2 separate regions of the Homo sapiens genome follow, and region 1 is linked to region 2. Evidence: promoter capture Hi-C in 16 types of primary human blood cells and fetal thymus (Javierre and others, 2016). All regions are on one chromosome and are shown on one strand. Each heading gives the region's core, a stretch centred on a gene start or on the middle of the fragment in contact. The rest is flanking DNA. Distances are from core to core; before and after follow the strand shown.

Evidence for each region. The method cuts DNA at HindIII sites, captures the fragments that hold promoters and counts their contacts. A CHiCAGO score of 5 or more calls a contact.
Region 1: a fragment that was not itself captured here is called in contact with the fragment with the promoter of CLCN5 in region 2 in 1 of 17 cell types (naive B cells); the score reaches 5.3 in naive B cells.

Annotation. Positions count from the first base shown.
Region 1 is chrX:50,182,581-50,186,056 of GRCh38, forward strand. No RefSeq gene overlaps it. Among named protein-coding and RNA genes, the nearest start is that of AKAP4, 17 kb to the right of the region's middle. The HindIII fragment of the contact is 1,316 bases long and covers 1,004-2,319 here.
Region 2 is chrX:49,920,274-49,924,039 of GRCh38, forward strand. It overlaps CLCN5 (chloride voltage-gated channel 5), which reads left to right and starts at 2,323. Exons shown (of 15, transcript NM_001127898.4): 1 at 2,323-2,519; 2 at 3,134-3,209. RefSeq lists a silencer at 2,585-2,634. The HindIII fragment of the contact is 4,286 bases long and covers 1-3,086 here.

The DNA.
Region 1 (3,476 bases), core at 412-2,911, 260 kb after region 2:
AGTTCTCTTTGGCAGTGTCCCAGCTAGGCCTGTCCACCCACCCTCTGTAAAGTGGGTGCAGCTAGATAGTGGGGCTTGTGGGAAGAGCAGCAAAACAAGGATAGATCCTGGGTAGGTCAACAGTTATCAGATGGGCAGAGAAAGAGGGTTCTCTGAAAGAGACTGGGAAGAAAGGGCCAGGGAAGTAGGAAGAAAACCCCAAGATTCGACTCAAAGGAGGATGGAGAGATATGACAAGTCACTCTAGGTGTGCCTGCTTAGAGTTTGCATCAGGATGGGGATAACTAAGTTGTTCTGTCATTTCAGAAGTGGACCATTTGGTTGCAGAGGAGATTTTCCTGGCAAGTCCTCCCTTCCCTTTAGCAGATAGTTTGTGCCACAGGACTCATTGACAAAGGCATCCGAAGTCTCCAACAGGAAAAATTTCTTTTCCAAAAGCAGGGCCTTTGGGAACGAGATGCTGTCAGCCACTGAGAGGAAAGTTAGCAGATCAGGGTGTTTTATTTTACTTTCCTCTCTTGCTGAGTTCTGGGACATGATTTATCTTCTATTGGGAGGTGCTGTGTTAAGCCACGTCAAGGTCATTAAAAATATATGCATTTGGCATTTGGAGGTCGGGGAGAGTTTGGAGTCTGCCTTCTACTGTTTCTGGCATCTGATGGTTGTGACAGTGGCAAATAAAGGCCTGGAGGCCAAGTGTAACCTTAGGGAAGGAAAATGAAAACCTACCACCCTTCTCTTCATCAATTGTCTCCATCACAGCTGGGGTTTCTAGTCGGTCATAAGGGGCACTGCTCACCTTCCCCATCTGCCCCCCAGTAGGTATGTTAGTTCAGCTCTGGAATCTTTTAACATTTAGTGAAGTCCATTTTAAAAAGGAAAAATGAAAGGAACCAAAAAAAAAGCAGAAATAAGCAAAGGAAGTAAAGAACAGTTAAGCAGCACATGGCTCGCTCCAATGTATCCTTCCCATAGCAGACTGAGTGAGCACTCCAGAACACAAAGCTTACTCTGAAACTGCAGAGCTCAAACCCTTCAAGTGGTTTCTCCTTGAACTTAGCAGTGAATCCACATAGTACTCTGATGCCAGCTGACTTTTCTAGCCTTGTCACCCTTCAGTTCCCCTTCACACACTTTCTACTCCAGTGCCATGTCTCCTGGATTCCTAAGCAAGCCATGCCTTTATTCACCTCTGACGTTTTGCACATGGATGGGCACCCACCAGCCACTCAAGTGTGGTGGTGAATAGTACAGAGTCAAGTCTCATTTTGCCTGGGCGTCATCCCAGATGTAGGCAACTTTCTGATCCTCTGTACCTTCATTTCCTCAGTTGAGAATTGGGGCTACCAAGAGAGGCACCTTGAGGATTAGATGTGACAATCTGTGAGAAGAGCCTAGCAGAGGGCCTGGCTCAGCACACAGTTAGCTGTTACTTAACAAACATTGATTGTCTGGGTGCCCAGTAGGTGGGAGGCCCTTATCTGTTCATTTGTTACAAGCTATTTGTAGTCTGGTGGAAAGGCAGACATGAAACCAAGACATTATAAGACAGTGTGATCCAGTGGCGCTGGAACTGTGTGGGTTTGTACCTTTTCTTCAGCTGAGCTCGCCCCAGGTGTTATCTAGAATTCAACTCTTAGCCAGGCCCGAGACTTGAGGAAGATAAGAGAAAGTAAAATACTTCCACCCTGGGAGAGGCATTTCAGACTTGAGGCACTAGCACAGCCCCACAGCTATTCAAATGTTGAAATCCTTTCCTACTGATTGGCAAGTGCCCTGAACACCCCAACTGCCTGTAACCCCTCCTTTCCTTCTACTTCACACATTCTGGCGTGCATTGGTCGGATACCATCAGAGACTGTCCTTGTCTCCTGCCAGGGTGCAAGGGTGCTAGCCTGTCTTGTTGCTCTTTAGCTCTGGTTCCCCTCAACCCCCAACAAGGAGCAGCCCTGAGCCCTCTGAGCAAATGCAAATTCCATACTTGTTCTGCGAGGCTACATTTTCAACATTACATATGCTTCTCCTTGGGGATATTGCCTGCTCTGAGTCCCAGGAGCTGTATCGGCTTGCTTTGGGGGATGCCCAGTTCAGCCTTCTTCTGGGCTATGGTCTATGCCAGCAATATCCTTTGAAAACCTCTGCCTGTCCACCAGGGGAGATTTCTTCCAGCTAACCATCCACTCTACTGCAGAGGTTCCTGTCACCTCCTAGTTGTTCCTACTCCATTCTGTCAGTGTTACCTGCACTATGCTAGGATTTATCCTGACTTATGATGTTATGGACAAGGTCCTGGTGTCCTGTGAAGTAGTATAGAGTGGAAGCTTTGGAGCCTATCTGTGTTTTTCAATCCCAGCTCCAGCACTTCCTAGCTCTGTGACCTTAGCAAGTTACTCAGCCTTTCCAAGCCTCTGTCATCTCATCTGCAAAAAGGGATAACAGTAATACATACCTTATAGGGCTTTTGGGAGGATTATATAATACTGAAAAGCATTTAGAAGAATGCTGACTCACAGTAAAAGCTCAACAAATGTTAGACGTTATTATTATTGCTATTATTATTATTTTGTATTGAAGCTCTTTTTTTTTTTGAGGAAGGTCTTGTCACCCAGGCTGGAGTGCAGTGGTGCAATCTTGGCTCACTGCAGCCTCAACCTCCCGGGCTCAGGTAATCCTCCCACCTCAGACTCCTAAGTAGCTGGGACTACAGGCAAGTGCCACCATGCCCGACTAAGTTTTGCGTTTATATAGATGGGGTTTTACCATGTTGCCTAGGCTGGTGTTGTACTCCTGAGTTCAAGCGATCCACCTGTCTCGGCCTCCCAAAGTGCTGTGATTAGAGGCCTGAGCCACCGTGCCCAACCATACTGAAGCTTTAGTGGGCTTCATTTAGGTATATTTTCAAATATAATTGCCTCTTTTGATGTACATAACCGTTCTAATGAGGTAGGTATAAAAGACTATTGGTTAGAATCCCAATTTTTGAGGTAAAGAAATTAAGACTTGGCTATATGAAGTGAGATGGCCATGGTTAATGACAAGTTTTATGATTTCCCGTTTAATGTTATTGTTCTCCACCAGAAGACACTGAAATAGATGGATTGTTATTTATTCAATAAATATTTATTGAATGGCTACTGTGTGCCAGGCATTGTGCTGGGCGCTGAGGGTACAGTGGTGAGCAAGACAGACAGGTCCCTGTGCTCCTGAAGTTACCATTTTAGTGGAAGGGGACAATCAATAAGCAAGTAAATAACAATAAAAGGTATATATCAGTTAGTGCAATAAAAATTAAACAGGGCAATGGGATACAAAGTAATTAAGGGAGATAAGGTAGTGAATGAAGGAGGGTTTTTCTGGGGAGGTGACTTTCATGACAAGTAGATGAGCTGGAGACCTTCTCACCTTGGATATGTAGCTAGGTTCTGGGAGAGAAGTCCTCATGAAGAGGGGATTTCCAAGGTCCTACTCTGGGCCAC
Region 2 (3,766 bases), core at 1,073-3,572:
CTCCTGCCTCAGCCTCCTGAGTAGCTGGGATTACAGGCGCCAGCCACCATGCCTAGCCATGTATTTTTAGTAGAGATGGGGTTTCATCATGTTGGCCAGGCTGGTCTCGAACTCCTGACCTCAAGTGATCCACCTGCCTTGGCCTCCCAAAGTGCTGGGATTACAGGCGTGAGCCACTGCACCCGGCCTCTTGCCTCTTTATTATTGATTTCACCAGTAGTTTTTCTGCTCGACCTACATATAAGCTCCAGTTTCTTCTACTTCAATGACAAAAAAAAAAATCAAGCAAACAATCAAACCTTTCCTTGAACAATTACTCTAGATTCACCTTTTAAAAGATGAATTCCAAAAGAGGATTGCCTTGCTCAGAAACCTCAATTCTTTCTCAGTCACTTTTTGAATTAGGTATAAATCTTAGTCCAATATTCAGGATGCTCCAAAATTGGGCCCCAATTTACCTTCTGGGTATTATCTTCCACAATTCCCCTGTACTTCCTTACCCTAAACTTCAACCACATAGGACTACTCACGGGTCCTCACATATAACTTCCTGCCTGCTCACCTTTGCCAACGGTGTTACCTCCACTTGGATTTACCTTTATTAGAGGCCTGTACTGATATTTTCTAGTTATTTGTGGCTATCCCATACACCATGAGTGCCTGAAGGAAGGGACTGAATGTTACCAGCTCAGAAAGCAAAAAAATTTTGGACTGAAAAAATAAAAATCCGGCCATTCATCAGGCCGGAATAACACACAGATAAAACCAGATGCAAATTTAACAGAGAACAATATTTCTTTGGCGGACATATTGCAGCTGTAAAGTGGTAACGATGTTTTTATTTCAGTGACCACCACTTTTTTATTCACTGAGAGACTTTGTTCTCTAAAATCGTAGATTATCAGAAACTTTTCTGCTTGAAATCGTATCAGTAAGAATGAAACATCCCACATGCATCTGGAGGACATAAGTTTCTTTGACACAGAGAAGCAGCCTCAATTTCCAACCCAGGTGCAGAGCTTCAGATAAGGGGTATCTGGACACAACATTCCACATCTATCTTTATTTTGTGGTTCCCAAGGAAACACAACTCTGGGTTCACTTTGCAGTTCAGACCTGATGGTGACCCCAAATGACAGTACTGCTTTGCTTTGAGCTTACCAAAAACACTGCTTTGTTTAAAATTCACCTAAACTCCACTCTTCTCTCCAATCCTATAATGACTCCATGTTTTTCTGTTTGATGAAATGCCTACCGTGTGCAGTCTCTCATATTGCAATGGGTCAAAGCCTGACTATGTCGGATTACAAATTTGTCCCCGGTAGCCTTATGCTGATTGGGCTAGGATAGGGGTTTTTAAATCCCTGACCACTTAGCTTGTCCAAAGTAGGCATTCCAAATTGTTCACTGCAGTAGAGTACCCTGGTTCTAGTTAGATTACTTGGATTATATGGATTCCAGTCTCAGGTCTGCCAAGAACTAATTAGCTGGATCATCTTAAGTGAGTCAGTGCACCCCATTTGGCCTAAGTTTTCTCTTCTGCAAAACGGTGTGCTGTTTCTTTCAAACCTAGGGTAAGGGCTTTGGAGTAAGTTAGACCTAGGTTGGATTCCCAGTTCTACCACGTACTAGTCCTGTGACTTCAGCTTTTCTGAGCCTCTGTTTTGTAATGATTAATATGGAGATAATACAGTACTAACAACTGCAGTATAGTTTTTGCAGCGTTGCTGGAAACATCAAGTTGGCTGTTAAAAGTATCACTACGTTTGATCACTATTCCTATTCCTACTATTATATGAGTTTAGACAAGTTACTTAACCTTTCTGTGCCTGTGTATTTTTATGAGTAAAAATGGAGAAATAACCCTCGGGGTTATTGTGAACACCAAATGAGACGAAAAAAGTAAAGGGGTTAGGAGAGTGCCTGGCACATAAGAAGCAGCTCAAATTATGTGATCTAATGTTATTAGTATTAGATTTCTACTACTAATTACTCTGTGGGCCGAAAGCTCAGGATAGACAGTTTCATTCTAAGGACAAACCTTCTCCCCAGCAAAAAAAGGCACTGCAAGCTGGAAATAGTGAAACACAATGGGGCATTGCGTTTTCAAAGGCAACTGACACGCCCAGCACTGGGATAGGACCCGCCCGCCCAGTCCTCATTAAATATGGCAGCGAGCGGGGCCGACGTACTGCGGCTGCGCAAGTTGAAACTCCTCCTGGCAGCTCCTCCCCGGCGGGCCTCCCCTCATCTCGGCTGGGTAGAGGTGCCGGGTGTGAGCTCGGCGTGGCGCGCACGCGCAGACGCTGGCTGGGCTGAGCCGATACTCGCGAGGCGCCCTGTCACATGAGCCGCGCGCCCGCTTCGCTCCCCCTCCTCCCCGGCTGGGCTGTGTGAATGAAGCTCTGCCGGCTACGTGGGGCGCTCACTCAACTTGGTGTCCTGGACGCCAGAGCCGACCGAGCGCGCTGCCCACCGGCGGCGGACACGGGCTCCGCCGCTCCGGACCTCGGCGACAGGTAAAGGCAAACGGGCTGTCCCTTCCCCAACAGGTCCTTGGCGGGCCGCTGGCCCCCGGCCCACCCCCGGAGCACCCCCTAAGCGCAGCGACACAGGGGAAGCGCAATCCCGCTGGCTTGGACCCCCGGAGATGGGGCTTCCCCGCGCCCGGCGTTGGCAGCCCGGCGCTTAGAGGAGGTAGACAGGCTAGTTCCAGCCAGTGCTGAGCGGCGTCTTCCCGGGAGCCCAGCCCTGTTCTCCGAGTTATGGTCCCTGGGTTGCCCGAGCGAAGTTTCCTTGCGGAGCGGCGCCAAGCCCGCCCCGCTTTTGAATCGGAGTGTTTAGCCGCCTGCGTCCCCTTTCCCGGACTGGGGTAGGGTGACTTAGGCTGGCAAAGCTCAGCCGAGGCCCGGCTCTTCTCCCTCCGGCTCTGGACTTGCCGCTGGTTTTGTATGGGTCTTAGCAAAGTGGAGAAACTCTCGGAAAAGTAGTTGCTGCGCTGTTTTCCTTTTGCCACTTAACGCGCGTAGCTGGTTCTCTCCAGACTTTCGAGCCTTGCTCTTGAGCGCCTTGATCCACACGGGAAAAGCTTTGCCTTTACATTGACGCACGTTTCCTTTGATTAACATTTCAGAGCAAATCAGTTGCCTGGAGTTCCCAGTGAAGTTGTACCTGTGCCCGTGCGATAACGTCAGTGGAAGCTGCCCCGAGTAAGTGAGGGAAATCTAGAAGTTTGGAGCATAAAAAACCAGCACGAATCAACTTTACATAAACTTCATACATTTATTAGCAACTGCTCGGGTTTAACTTCAGGGATGTTAAATTTCGCCTAGTCCCACGGGACGATGATCATTACTTCTTAACTGCACGCGAAATAGGAGAAGAAAAAAGGCAAATCAAAACAGACTGTCCCAGGTCTCAGAGAAGTCATCGGAGCGCTTTTTCCTGCTGAATTCACCCTAGGAGTTTGTGAGTTCCTAGTTTTCTTGGACTTCGCGAACTTTTCCTTGTCCAAAGCACTGTCTTTTCTCTGTTGGTGTTTTGGGACTGGTGTACACATTAACCCTTTTGTCATTAAAGAAGGCCAACACGATTCTCAAGCTAGTATTAGCCTTCAGTGTTTGTGCTTTAGCACTTTCACTTAGGAGGTGGAGGTGTTGGTTGTATAAAAGATATGGAAATAACAATCTACTTTGATGTTCACCAGGTCAAAAAGGTGAAGACTTTTAGAAAAAACAGATTGGCTTGTATGCTAAGTAGGGAAGAC